2 separate regions of the Homo sapiens genome follow, and region 2 is linked to region 1. Evidence: promoter capture Hi-C in 16 types of primary human blood cells and fetal thymus (Javierre and others, 2016). All regions are on one chromosome and are shown on one strand. Each heading gives the region's core, a stretch centred on a gene start or on the middle of the fragment in contact. The rest is flanking DNA. Distances are from core to core; before and after follow the strand shown.

The links. The method cuts DNA at HindIII sites, captures the fragments that hold promoters and counts their contacts. A CHiCAGO score of 5 or more calls a contact.
Region 2: a fragment that was not itself captured here is called in contact with the fragment with the promoter of TRIB3 in region 1 in 7 of 17 cell types (activated CD4 T cells, naive B cells, erythroblasts and 4 more); the score reaches 7.7 in activated CD4 T cells.

What each region holds. Positions count from the first base shown.
Region 1 is chr20:378,308-384,661 of GRCh38, reverse strand. TRIB3 (tribbles pseudokinase 3) reads right to left here and starts at 3,902. Exons shown (of 4, transcript NM_021158.5): 1 at 3,493-3,902. RefSeq lists an enhancer at 1,785-2,783 and silencers at 2,469-3,058, 3,329-3,438, 3,459-3,618. The HindIII fragment of the contact is 2,528 bases long and covers 1,977-4,504 here.
Region 2 is chr20:491,711-498,064 of GRCh38, reverse strand. It overlaps CSNK2A1 (casein kinase 2 alpha 1), which reads left to right. Exons shown (of 14, transcript NM_177559.3): 7 at 285-344; 8 at 2,263-2,346; 9 at 5,701-5,811. Among named protein-coding and RNA genes, the nearest start is that of TBC1D20, 32 kb to the right of the region's middle. The HindIII fragment of the contact is 2,087 bases long and covers 1,333-3,419 here.

The DNA.
Region 1 (6,354 bases), core at 2,653-5,152:
GGCTGGGCGCAGTGGCTCATGCCTGTAATCCCAGCACTTTGGGAGGCCGAGGCAGGCAGATCACAAGGTCAGGAGATCGAGACCATCTTGGCCAACATGGTGAAACCCCATCTCTACTAAACATACAAAAATTAGGTGGGCATGGTGGTGCATGCCTGTAGTCCCAGCTACTCGGGAGGCTGAGGCAGGAGAATCACTTGAGCCTGGGAGGCAGAGGTTGTAGTGAGCTGAGATCTCGCCACTGCACTCCAGCCTGGGGACAGAGCAAGACTCTGTCTCAAAAAAAGAGAAAAAGAAGAAAAAAACGTCTATTTCATTTTAGCTATTAAGTGGCTGTTTCTATATTACAGCTGAGCCTAATCCTAATTAACACACAATAGGATTTGGAATTATCCAAAGGCAGTGGGGAGCCACTGAAGGATTTCAGCAGGGGAACATCATGCTTTTAGGGTGGATTTGAAAGTACAAGACGGGGCAGTGAGACTAGCTAGGAGGCCCACACAAGCACGAGTCCAGGCAGGAGAAGGTGACCTGGACTAGGGGGTGCTAGATGGAGACGCGAAGTTAAGGGCTCATAGGAGGAAGATCAAGAGGACTCAGTGGCAGACTGGATGGACTGGATGGATTGGATGTGAGGGGTGAAGGAGAGGGTGGAATCGAGGTGAGGTCCAGCCTTTGGCTCCTGCAATGAGGAGGGATGATGGCTTCATGTCCTGAGCTGGGGGAGAAGCCTGTATTTTGGGGACTGTGGAAGAAAACTGTTAAGTATTTCAGACCCTTATGTCTTGGCAGTGTCATGAAAAGTGGGTTTATACTGTGGAATAGTGGCAGTGCAGCCACTAACAATGAAGACAGTGCTAGTGGGAGGATAAAAGGTACCACCTCTGAGGAGTGCATTTTGACAATATCAAAATGAAAAACAGGCTGGGTGCAGTGCTTCATGCCTGTAATCCCAGTACTTTGGGAGGCTGAAGCAGGAAGATCACTTGAGCCCAGGAGTTCAAGACCAGCCTAGGCAACGTAGCGAGACCCTGTCCCTAAGAAAAAAAAAATTATCTGGTCATGATGGCACACAGCTGTAGTCCCAGCCATGCAGGAGGTTGAAGTAGGGGAATCACTTGAGCCCAGAAGGTAAAGGCTTCAGTGAGCCATGGTCAGGAACTCTAGCCTGTGCAACAAAGTGAGACTGTCTCAAAACAAAGCAAAACAAAACAAAACAAAAACAACGATGAAAAGCGTGTGAGCTTTGATTCAGCAATTAATCCCATTGCTAAGAATTTATTCTGTAGAGGTGTGTGTGTGTAAGCATGCAAATACACAGTTATTCCTGCAGCCCTTTTGACAGAAATAATTGGCTGTCTATAATTACAGGGCTGGTTACATAAATTATACTTCATCCACACAACGGAACAATGTGCAGCCATTTAAAAGGTTGAGGATGCTCTTTATAGGGTAATTGGAAGGATCTCCAGAGTGAACTGTTAAGTGAAAGGAAAGCCACCATTCACGCAGCTGTGTGACTGTGTGTGTGGTGGCTGAAGGAGAGGGCAGTAGGGCATGGTCAGGGCAGACGGGTTCTCTCTAGAACCCATCTGCCCACCCACTTAAACTCCATTCCAAGGAGGTGCATGCCCAGGTATGGGCATTGGTGCGAGAGACCTCAGCCTGGTTAAAGACCTTCCCAACAGTTCAAGGCAGGATTAACAAGGCAACATGAGTCAGTTACCAGACAGAGGCCCACCTCTCCAAGTACGCTGCTCCCAAATGGAAGAGCTGCCTTGGAAGGGAAGGCCTCCCCACATGAGTGAAAGGTCATGACTTTGGCTTGGTAAGAATGCAGTAAGGAGTGGCTGTAGTCAGATATTCCTGGGTTCTAATCCTGTCTCAAACCCTTTCTAGCTGGGGGGTACCCCTGGTCAAGTTCCTCAAGCTTTCTGAGCCTCAGTTCCTGTAAAGTGGGAACAGGATGCAAAGCTTACAGGTTTTTCGTGATGATGAAATGAAAACACAAATGAAGCATGTAGAGCTTATGGACCTGTTGCCAGGTAGGTGTCAGGAAATGGTCATTATTAGCACTCATCCTGTTATTCTTCACAGCAAGATGCATAAGTACCATCCTTGGGAGTCTTAGAAAGCTCCCCAGGTTCGAGGCTGGGATGACACTCCTTACATCTCAAGGCTGTTCTGAGTCACGCAGGATGATACCTGGCTGTGCACATGCTTTGTGCCCTGTGCAGCAGGAGACTGCCTGGAGTCCCTCTGGCCTGTGCCACATCAGTAGTCCAGGCTGCCTTGGCCCCGGCCATCCCTCAGAGCCTGTTGGGGCCTGGGATAAGCTCCACCCAGATGGGGACAGATGCGGTAACTGAGTCTATACATCTTGGGCAAGGCATTTTGCAGACCACACTGCAGAATAGAATCTGTGATGTGGAATGAAAGCAGCCCCTAATATCTACCTCTTGCTGTTCCCTGCCACACTCGGGACCCAGGGAAATGAGGGCGGGTTACATCAAGCGCAAGCGCGCGCGCGCACGCACACACACACACACACACACACACACAGCCCTCCCAGCTGTCACACCCATGGTCTACCCGAGCAAGGCCGCACCCCCACCCCGCCCCGCCCCCCGCAGCCAGGCCCCTCCCGTGGGAGCCCAAGCGAAAGGCGGCGGGTGTCCGAGTCAGAAGTTTCAGCGGAAATTGAAGCGCGGCCCTGGGACAGGAGGGGGGTGAGGCAGAGGGAAGGAGGTGGCTGTCGTCCCCCGCCCTCCCCGGTCTGCAGGCACAGCACACACCGCAGACACGCGCGCACCGTCCACCTGCAAACCCGGAGCCGCGCACTGGGGAGAACCAGCGGCCCTGCCGGGCCAGAGATCGCGCGCTGCGCCCCCGCTCCCACTCCCTCGGCTCCCCCGCTCCAGGGCACCCCAGCCCTGTCCCGGCGGTGTCCCCTGCACCGCCAACCCCTGCCACCAAGTGCCCAGCCCTCCAGACAGCTCTCACCATCTCCTGAGACACAGGTGCTCGGGACCCACCCTCACCCAGGACTCTCCCCTGCGGGTTCACGAGGACCCCCTCGGATCCCCCGCCACCCCCAGAGTCCTCCAGTGCCCCCCACAAGCCCCTCACCGCACCACACGACTCCCCTATCCCGCACTCACGCAAAACAGACCCCCGCACGCCCTCCTCTAGGGGTGACGGCCGGACACCTCCGTCCCTGGCTTCCCCAGCCCAACTCGGGCGACCCCACGCTCCGCGGGGCCGCGTCACCTGAAGCCCGGGGGGAGCACTCAGCCCAGGCCCGGATCAAAAGGGATCTGACCTGGCCGCGCCCCGACGGCGGGGTCTGTGAAAAGGTGTGTAAGGGGCGTGCGTGCGTGTAACACGCGGCAACACGCAGACGCCCAGAGGCTTCCGGCGCCCCCTTCCCCGGCCGCCCCCTCCCGCCCCCCGGCCTCCGGGCGAGTCCGCAGGCCGCACCCCGCCGAGTACCTCGCCCCGTCGTTCCGCGTGGGCCCGGGCGCCGCCGGGGCTCAGAGCCTCCAGGGCACCAGCAGGTGGGCCGGCCCGCTGCGCTGCTGCCGAGCTCGGGATCCCAGCCCAGCTCCAGCCCTGCCCGGGTCCTAGCAGCGGACGCGCGCGGAGCCGCCTCCACTTCCGCTGCGAGTCTCGTGCGCGCCCGGCCCCCGGTCCGGGTGATGCAAACCGGAGCTAATCCCCCGGTCCGGGTGATGCAAACCGGAGCTAATCCCCCGGTCCGGGTGATGCAAACCGGAGCTAATCAGCCGCCGTCTGATGCCCTCGGGCCCGGGATCGCACCATCCCCCGCGCCGCGCCCGGGCCTCTCTCCTCTGCATCCGCTGCACCTGGGACCCGCCCTCGCTGGCCCCCTAGGGGCGTCTGGTCAGTGCAGACATCAGCCACGGACTCTCCCTATCACCTTGGAAAAAAAATTTGCTCTTTTTTTTTTTTTTTTTGAGACAGAGTCTTGCTCTGTCGCCCAGGCTGGAGGGCGGTGGCGCGATCTCGGCTCACTGCAAGCTCCGCCTCCCGGGTTCACGCCATTCTCCTGCCTCAGCCTCCCGAGTAGCTGGGACTACAGGCGCCCGCACCACGCCCGGCTAATTTTTTGTATTTTTAGTAGAGACGGGGTTTCACCTTGTTAGCCAGGATGGTCTCGATCTCCTGACCTCGTGATCCACCCGCCTCGGCCTCCCAAAGTGCTGGGATTACAGGCGTGAGCCACCGCGCCCGGCCAAAAATTTGCTCTTCTGAGCCTCGGTTTCCCCACCTATGAAATGGGAAGAACATTCCTCCTTCTCAGGATGGTGCTTAAAAGAGCAAACAGTGACTGTTGTCGGGGTGCTTCCCCTTTTTTATAAAGCACATTCCCAGCACTGCCTTATAAAACCTTTAGGAGAAGTGGACATGCGGGAATCTCCATTCTCCACATTCTACTGAGAGCCAGCCTGAGGCCCAGCTATGGGCAAGTGGTTCAGAAGCTTCAGGAAGGCCTATGGACTTAAGAGCTGACTCTGGGCTCAAAGGAACCACCGTGGCGCCCTTGGGAGGCCTAAGGTCTGCTGAGCTTCCCCGCGTCCCTTTGCTAGAGGCAGTGCGGCCTAGTGGTGAAGAGCCCCTAGAGCCAGCTGGCCTAAGAGTGCACTCCACCTCCGCTCCAACCCACAGTGCTACCCCAGAAAAGCTACCTAAAACCCTGCCTCAACTTCCTGCTCCATAAAATGGGCTCATAATTGCGCTCACTTCATAAAGTTGTTGTGAGGATTAAATAATTTAATATGTGTAAGACGCTTAGAACAGTGTGTGGCACATTGCGGATGCTCAGTGGAGTGTAAACAATGGAGACAGAGAGGGAAAGAGGCCTTTAATATGCTTGCACCCAAGGCCTGGGAGGGCTTGGTGCTACTTGATTTGGGGTGAAACACCCCTCTGCGTCCTAGGCGTCCAGCACCTTTCTTTTTTTTTCTTTTTTTGAGGCAGAGTTTCACTCGTTGCCCAGGATTGAGTGCGATGGCACGATCTCGGCTCACTGCAACCTCCACCTCCCGGGTTCAAGCGATTCTCCTGCCTCAGCCTCCCAAGTAGCTGGGATTACAGGCATGCGCTACTATGCCTGGCTAATTTTGTATTTTTAGTAGAGACAGGGTTTCTCCATGTTGGTCAGGCTGGTCTCGAACTCCTGACCTCAGATAATCCACCTGCCTCGGCCTCCCAAAGTGCTGAGATTACAGGCATGAGCCACCGCGCCCGGCCTGGGTCCAGCACCTTTCTTAGAAATCCCTTTTGATCTGAATTCACCAGTGTCAAAAAATAACTCCTCAGCTGGGTGAGCTGGCTCATGTCTGTAATCCTAGCACTTTGGGAGGCCAAGACGGGAGGATTGCTTGAGGCCAGGAGTTTGAGAACAGCCTGGATGACATAGTAAGACCCTGTCTTTACAAAGAGAAAAAGATAGCGGGCATGGTGGTACGAGCTTGTGGTCCCAGCTACTTAGGAAGCTGAGGTAGGAGGATCACTTGAGCCCAGGAGTTCAGGTTACAGTGAAACGTGATTGTGCCACTGCACTCCAGGTTGGGTGACAGAGTGAGATCCTGTGTAATAAATAAATAAGTAAGTAAGTAAAATAACTCCTCTAGAGGCTGGGCGTGGTGGCTTATGCCTGTAATCCCAGCACTTTGGGAGGCTGAGGCAGGTGGATCACGAGGTCGGGAGATCAAGACCATCCTGGCTAACACGGTGAAACCCGTTTCTACTAAAAGTACAAAAAATTACTAAAAATACAAAAAACACACCTGTAGTCCCAGCTACTCGGGAGGCTGAGGCAGGAGAATCGCTTGAACCCAGGAGGCAGGAGTTGCAATGAGCTGAGATTGCGCCATTGCACTCCAGCCTGGGCGACAGAGCAAGACTCCGTCTCAAAAAAAAAAAAAAAGTAAAATAAAATAAAATAACTCCTCTAGGCAGAGGCTGGATGGGAGGCAGGGTGGAGTCATATTTGTTTTCCTGTTTCCAAATCCCTGGGGACCAGCTCACCTGTGTCCCAGAGCCTTCAGGGTATACCAGGGCATTCTGGGATCTCATTTAATCCTGGCAACTCCCCTGCTGGGGAGGGGTGAATAAACTCATCCTCTATCCTGGGACACCGAAATGGTTAGGAAGATCCCACAGCTGTGAGGGGTGAAGAAAGGTGGGAGGGCTGTTTCCTGAGCACCCCTCTGAAGGTGTGCTGGGTTTGCTTGTACATTCCCAACTAACGTTGTTTTGTGCTGTGTCAGCCCCTGTTCTAAATGCTGGGGACTCAGCAGTGACCAGAATGATCCACCCCTGCTCTTA
Region 2 (6,354 bases), core at 1,127-3,626, 110 kb before region 1:
ATAGGTGGGTGTCAGTGCATATTAACGTATCTAGATCAGTATGTTTCTGACAGTGGATTATAGCTTCCGCAATATATGTTTAAGTAATTCTTCATTTTTAAGAGTTGAAGACCCAAAGTATCTCTTTAAAGTTAATGTAATGTTGGAGAAATAGAGGGCAGTGAATGGACAGATCTTGGAACAACGGTAAATGAGCCAAGTCTTGGTTTGAATTACTGTGAGTGAGGGTGAAAAATGCCTTTCTGTCAGCATTATTTCATGGCTCAAACATTTGTCTTTAACAGCAATTGTACCAGACGTTAACAGACTATGATATTCGATTTTACATGTATGAGATTCTGAAGGTAAGTGAACCTTGAATACTAAATATTTTTTAAATTGGTCTTCTTTTTGTTAAATAGTCAATTGATGGTAGAAAAGCCAGCAGATTAACTTTGTAAAGTATGTTGAAAGAAGGGACCTCTATATAAGTTTTTAATAAGTTAATAGTATCATACCTGTAATCCCAGCACTTTGGAAGGCTGAGGCAGGAGGATTGCTTGAGGCCAGGAGATCAAAAGACCAGCCTGGGTGACATAGTGAGATCCCCATCTCTACAAAAAAAAATTGTTTAATTACCTGGGCATGGTGGTGTGCACCTGTAAGTCCCAGCTACTTGGGAGGCCAAGGCAGGAGGATTGCTTGAGGCCAGGAGATCAAGACCAGCCTGAGCAACATAGTGAGACCCTGTCTCTACAAAAAATTTAAAAATTAGCTGGGTATGGTGGCTTATGCTTGTAATTCCAGCTACTTGGGAGGCTGTGACAGGAGGATCTCAGGAATTTGAGGCAGCAGTGAGCTATGATTGTTGCACAGGCTGGAGTGCAGTAGCACAGAGTAAGACCCTGTCTCTAAATACATAAATAAATAAAAATTAATAATAATAGTATCAGAACCCTTGTGCTAAGGGTTATGGAATGGGGTCTAGTGGGAGTATAATTTAGAACAATTTGAAAAAGGGTATTTGTAAGATAGCTGGGACTGACCCCTTAACAAATATTTGTAATTTCTGTGGCCCCTATGTAAGTTAATATTAAATTTTCAAAACTCGTGAAAACACCTGACGTGCTAGCTTCTGGTATACTTTATCTCACTTAAGAGTCAGCAAATAAAACAGTAAACTTTAACTCAGTTCTCAAAGGGTAATTGTCCTAAGGATTGTGTAAATTTCTGCTTATAGATGCTAATTGAAAATTTACTTACATTTCTAAAGTGGGGTCACCAAATATCTTGTTCCCAGTAGCCACAAGATCAGCTTCCTAGAAGAGAGAATTGCTAAAAGTTGGCTAAGCTTTCTTACTAAACAAGAGTTGACATAAAGCCTGCTGTTGGAGCCTTAGAAATCCCCTGAGGAGATTGTGCCAGCAGAGATACTTGATCTTTCCATTGGCTCATGCAGTTTGTGGCAAGCAAGGCTTTAGAAAGTTACAGATATGATTGCCCAGCCCTGGGAACTGTAGGAACCCAAGTTGCCCTTCAGGAAGGACAAGAATTTGGCCAACAACGTCGGCTGACTGAAAGGCTGGGATTAACAAACCCCAAAGATTATACTACTCAGTTCCCTTTAGTTTGAGGTTGGAAACATTTCAGATTGGATTTGATGACCTAAATCAGGCATTGGCAAACTTCTTTAAAGGGCCAAATAGTAAATATTTTAGGCTTTGTGGGCCATGTAGTGTTTGTCACACTATTCAAGTCTGCTGTTGTTGCACAAGAGCAACCATAAACAATATGCAAACAAATAGGCATGGCTATGTTGCAATAAAACATTATTTACAAAAGCAGACATCAGGCCAAATTTGGCCTGTGGTCTGCCAACCTCTGTTACAGACTCTTAATGGCTAAAGAATTACTGTTCTTAGAATAAGAGGTTTGTAGTAAAGATCTGTTTTCTTTCTTTGAGGGGTCTGTGGAAATAATCTAGGATCTGGACAAGACAGAAAAATTTGAAGTGGTGCAATTTGGGTATACTTTGGGTCTTTTAGGACAGAAAACATGTTGAAACAACTGTGTCAGAAAAAGATCTCTAAGCTCAGAGAGCTGAGTTTGCTTGACTGTGAGATCATGAACAAGTCTCTGAAGCATTGCTGTGGAAGTGACTGTGTCCTCAGCTTGAATCCCAGGGGTATTGTGAGGCTAAAAGGAAAATTTACATGGAGGGAAAAGTAAAGGACTCTTACGTATTATTCAGGCTAACTCCTTTCTGACCCGTTCATCCCACAGGCCCTGGATTATTGTCACAGCATGGGAATTATGCACAGAGATGTCAAGCCCCATAATGTCATGATTGATCATGAGCACAGAAAGGTAAAGTGATAGGCTGACAAGTGTTATTTATCTACATGATGTAGCTAATTGCCCATCTTCAACACTTTATCCCTTGTGTTGTCACAGGCCCTAGTACCTATTCGGCAGTTGAGAAATATTTGGTGAATGAATGTACGAATTTACAAGTCAACATGTTTGAACCATTATTTATATTCCTAAGAATATTCCCAAGAAGGAAACATGAGTAAAGTGGGCAAAATGTTCATCTTCTAAGCCCGGAAACGTGGCTTCTCGCCTTATTTATTGAGTAACTGGTTTCCTGAGAAACTACTTTCTCTCCATTTGCCTTCTTTTTCTTACGTGTACAGTGTGGGTAATAATAGCCCTGCAGGCGACTAGGTATTCGTGAGAATTAAATGTGCACAGTTAAGTGGACGAGATATACAGAAAATGCTGTTTCTGTTTATTGGATGTCATAAGGGCCCTGTTGTCTGCAAATGCTTTTACATGAGAGCTGTAATGGCCACATGCTTTAGCATTTCAGTTTTTTAAGGTGACAAGCTGTGATGACTTGCCTGTTGTGGTCTCTGGGGAGGCAGGTGATTTATTTATGCAACTGAATTACTTTTAGACACACACCATGTCAGAGGCACCACCCTAGGGCTGGGGATATGTAAGTGAACTCAACATACAATAAATGCTTGTCTTTTAGGAGCTACATTTAGGGAGGCTGGTGGGATAGAAAGTTATTTTGATGTAGAAGAAAAAACGAATAGGGAATGGCAAGAGGGTATTTGCAGTTTTAAACCAGTTATAAGGGAAGGTTTCATTGGAAAGGTGACATTTTAGAGAGCACTGGGAGGGACCCAGCCATGCAGTCTTATGAAGAAACATGTCCCAAGGCAGAGTAAATAGCAAGTACAAAAGCCCTTCAGGTAAGGATATGTTTGGCATGTTGGAAGAGCAGCAGCAAGGATAAAGCTGGGACAGAATGAATGCGGGGAAAGAAGGAGGAAATGAAATCAAAGAGGTAAAACCAAATCATGTAAAACCTTATTGGTCATTGTTAGGCCTTTTCTCTGAAGATAGAGAGCTTTTGCATATTCTAAGCTTTAGCATGTTCTCACTTGAAATTTAAAAGTTAACTACACATTTATTAGAACAGCTAAAATAAAAAATAGTGATGGTACCAAGTGCTGGCAAAAATGTGAAGAAACTTGATCTCTCATACATTGCTGGTAGGAATGCAAAGTTTGGCATTTTGGAAAATGCTTAACTATTGTTTTATAGTTGGTTGGTTTCTTGAAAAGCTAAACATATGCTTACCATACAATCCTGCAGTGGCATTTATCTCAGAGCAACAAAATCTTAGGTCCACACAAAAGCCTATATATGAATGCAACTATATTTGTAATAGCTTAAAATTGGGGGGAAAAGCTGGGTGCAGTGGCTCACACCTGTAATCATTTTGGGAGGCCAAGGCAGGCAGATGACGAGTTCAGGAGTTCAAGACCAGCCTGGCCAACATGGTGAAACCCTGTCTCTACTAAAAAAATACAAAAATTAGCCGGGCCTGGTGGCATGCACCTGTAATCCCAGCTACTCAGGAGGCTGAGGCAGGAGAATTGCTTGAACCCCGGAGGCGGAGGTTGCAGTGAGCCGAGATCGTGCCACTGTGCTCCAGCCTGGGTGACAGAGCGAGACTGCGTCTCAAAAAAAAAAAAAAAAAAAAATGGGGAAAAGTGCCCTTCAATGAGGGAATGGTTAAACAAACTGGCATATCCATACCATATAATATTATTATGAAGTAGTATTTCTCAGCAATAAAAAGGAAAGAAGTATGACACATGCAACAACTTGGATGGATCTCATGCTTAGTGAAAAAAGGCAGTCTCAAAAAAAGTTATATGCCAATGACTCCATTTTTGTAGCATTCTCAAAATGATAGAGATAAAGAGCAGAGGGGTTGCCAGGGGTTGGGCTAACACACAGGACATGTGTGTGGTGATGGAACAGTTCTATATCTTGTTGAGGAGATTATATCAACTTACATATGTGATGAAATTGCATAGAAACACACACACAAACACATGCGTGCATGTAAAACTGGTGAAACCTGAATAAGATCTTTCTGAATTGTGCCAGTGTCAGTTTCTTGATTTTGATATTGTACTGTAGTTATGTAAGATGTTACTATTAGGGGAAACTGGGTAAAGGGTGCAGAGAATCTCTACTACTTTGGCAATTTCCTGTGAATCTATAATCTCTCCATAGCAACCTGAACAATCCTTTTAAAAAGCTGTTTATATTTATTTTTAAATATTTAATTATTTTTAAAATAACTATTAAACTATTTAGTATTTATTAAACTGTTTAGACTAGAGGGCAAGAGTGAAAGCAGTGAGACCAGTTAGGAGAAGGGGCTATGGCAATATATCAAACAAGAGGTGGTGGTGGCTTGGATCGGGGCAGTGGCAGTGGAGGTGATGATAATGGTCACAATATGATAGAACCTTCAGAATTTTTTGACAGATTAAATGTGAGGTCTGAGGGAATCAAGAATCCAGGGTGAATCTTAAGTTTTGGCTTGTATGACAGGATGAGTATCACCTTTAACCGAACAGGGGGAGACTGAGTGGAGGTGCTTTTGCAGGGAGTAATCAAAGGTTTAGTTTTGAGATACAGGCAGTAAACTTAGTGCCAGAGCAGTCCGATGTTTTTCCTCAGGGCCTACTGCTGGCACTTCAGATCATGGTCATGCTATGCACAGTGGGCAGATAAGCTTGCCTCTTACCCCTTTTTCCATGTTTAGGATGCATTTTGGTAAAAGCTGTATTGTATGACTTTTCTGTTATTTCATCTATCCAGCAAATATTTATTCATTTTTCTCCTGTATACCAGGCATTATGTTGAATTCTGAAAATTACAAAGGTGAATAAAACAGTCCCTACCCCTAAGGAGCTTGTCGTCCATATTGAAAAAGAAAGGTAGAAAACATAAAGAGTTTAGGTTCTGTTAAAGAAATATATCTAAAATTCAGGGGGCTGAAGGCAATGATCAGACTTCATTGAGAAGCTGACTTAAATATTCCAAAAGTTAAGGAAATGCTTACCAATAGGATTATAGGCTGGGTAGTAGGGACATTTTAGTCATTGAGCAGTTTAAGAAATTTGTAAAAGCACAGGTGAGATTGTGTCTTCCAGGAACAAAATCATGGAGAAAGAGGTTTGTCAAGCTAAGAAGTTTTATTTTCATTCTAAAGGCTATAAGTAGTCAGTGGAGGGGTTTCAGTAAAGAGTGACGTGTCTGGTATATTTTATCAAGAGTATGCTAATGGCACAGTGTGGGTAGCTTAGAGAAAGATAAGATTGCTCATGGTTTATTCTTTTTCAGCTACGACTAATAGACTGGGGTTTGGCTGAGTTTTATCATCCTGGCCAAGAATATAATGTCCGAGTTGCTTCCCGATACTTCAAAGGTCCTGAGCTACTTGTAGACTATCAGGTAAGAACAGAAGGGCAGGCACAGTTTTGATCCTGTGTTTATTTCGCACATAATTTACCAAAAAAAAAAAAGTATCATTTTGTGCATTTAGGTAGGCCACTTAATGCACATTCACAGCTGTCCTTTTTATATGAAATGTAAAATATAAATCACCTTAATTCATGTACCATGACTTACATTACTTTTATTGTCATAATGTCGGTAGAATATGAATAGGTTTGCATTTGATCCTGACTTGAGGGAAAGTAGCCAAAGATATGTTCTATAATCAGCAGTTCCAGAACTGTTTTGAATTGTAAGCTGTTTTGTTTTTGTTTTTGTTTTTGTTTTGAGACGGAGTCTCACTCTGTCGCCCAGGCTGCAGTGCAGTGGCATGATCTCGGCTCACTGCAAGCTCCGCCTCCCAGGTTCACACCTTTCTCCTGCCTCAGCCTCCCAAGTAGCTGGGACTACAGGCACCCACCACCACCCCAGCTAATTTTTCTTGTATTTTTAGTAGAGACTGGGTTTCACTGTGTTAGCCAGGATGGTCTCGATCTCCTG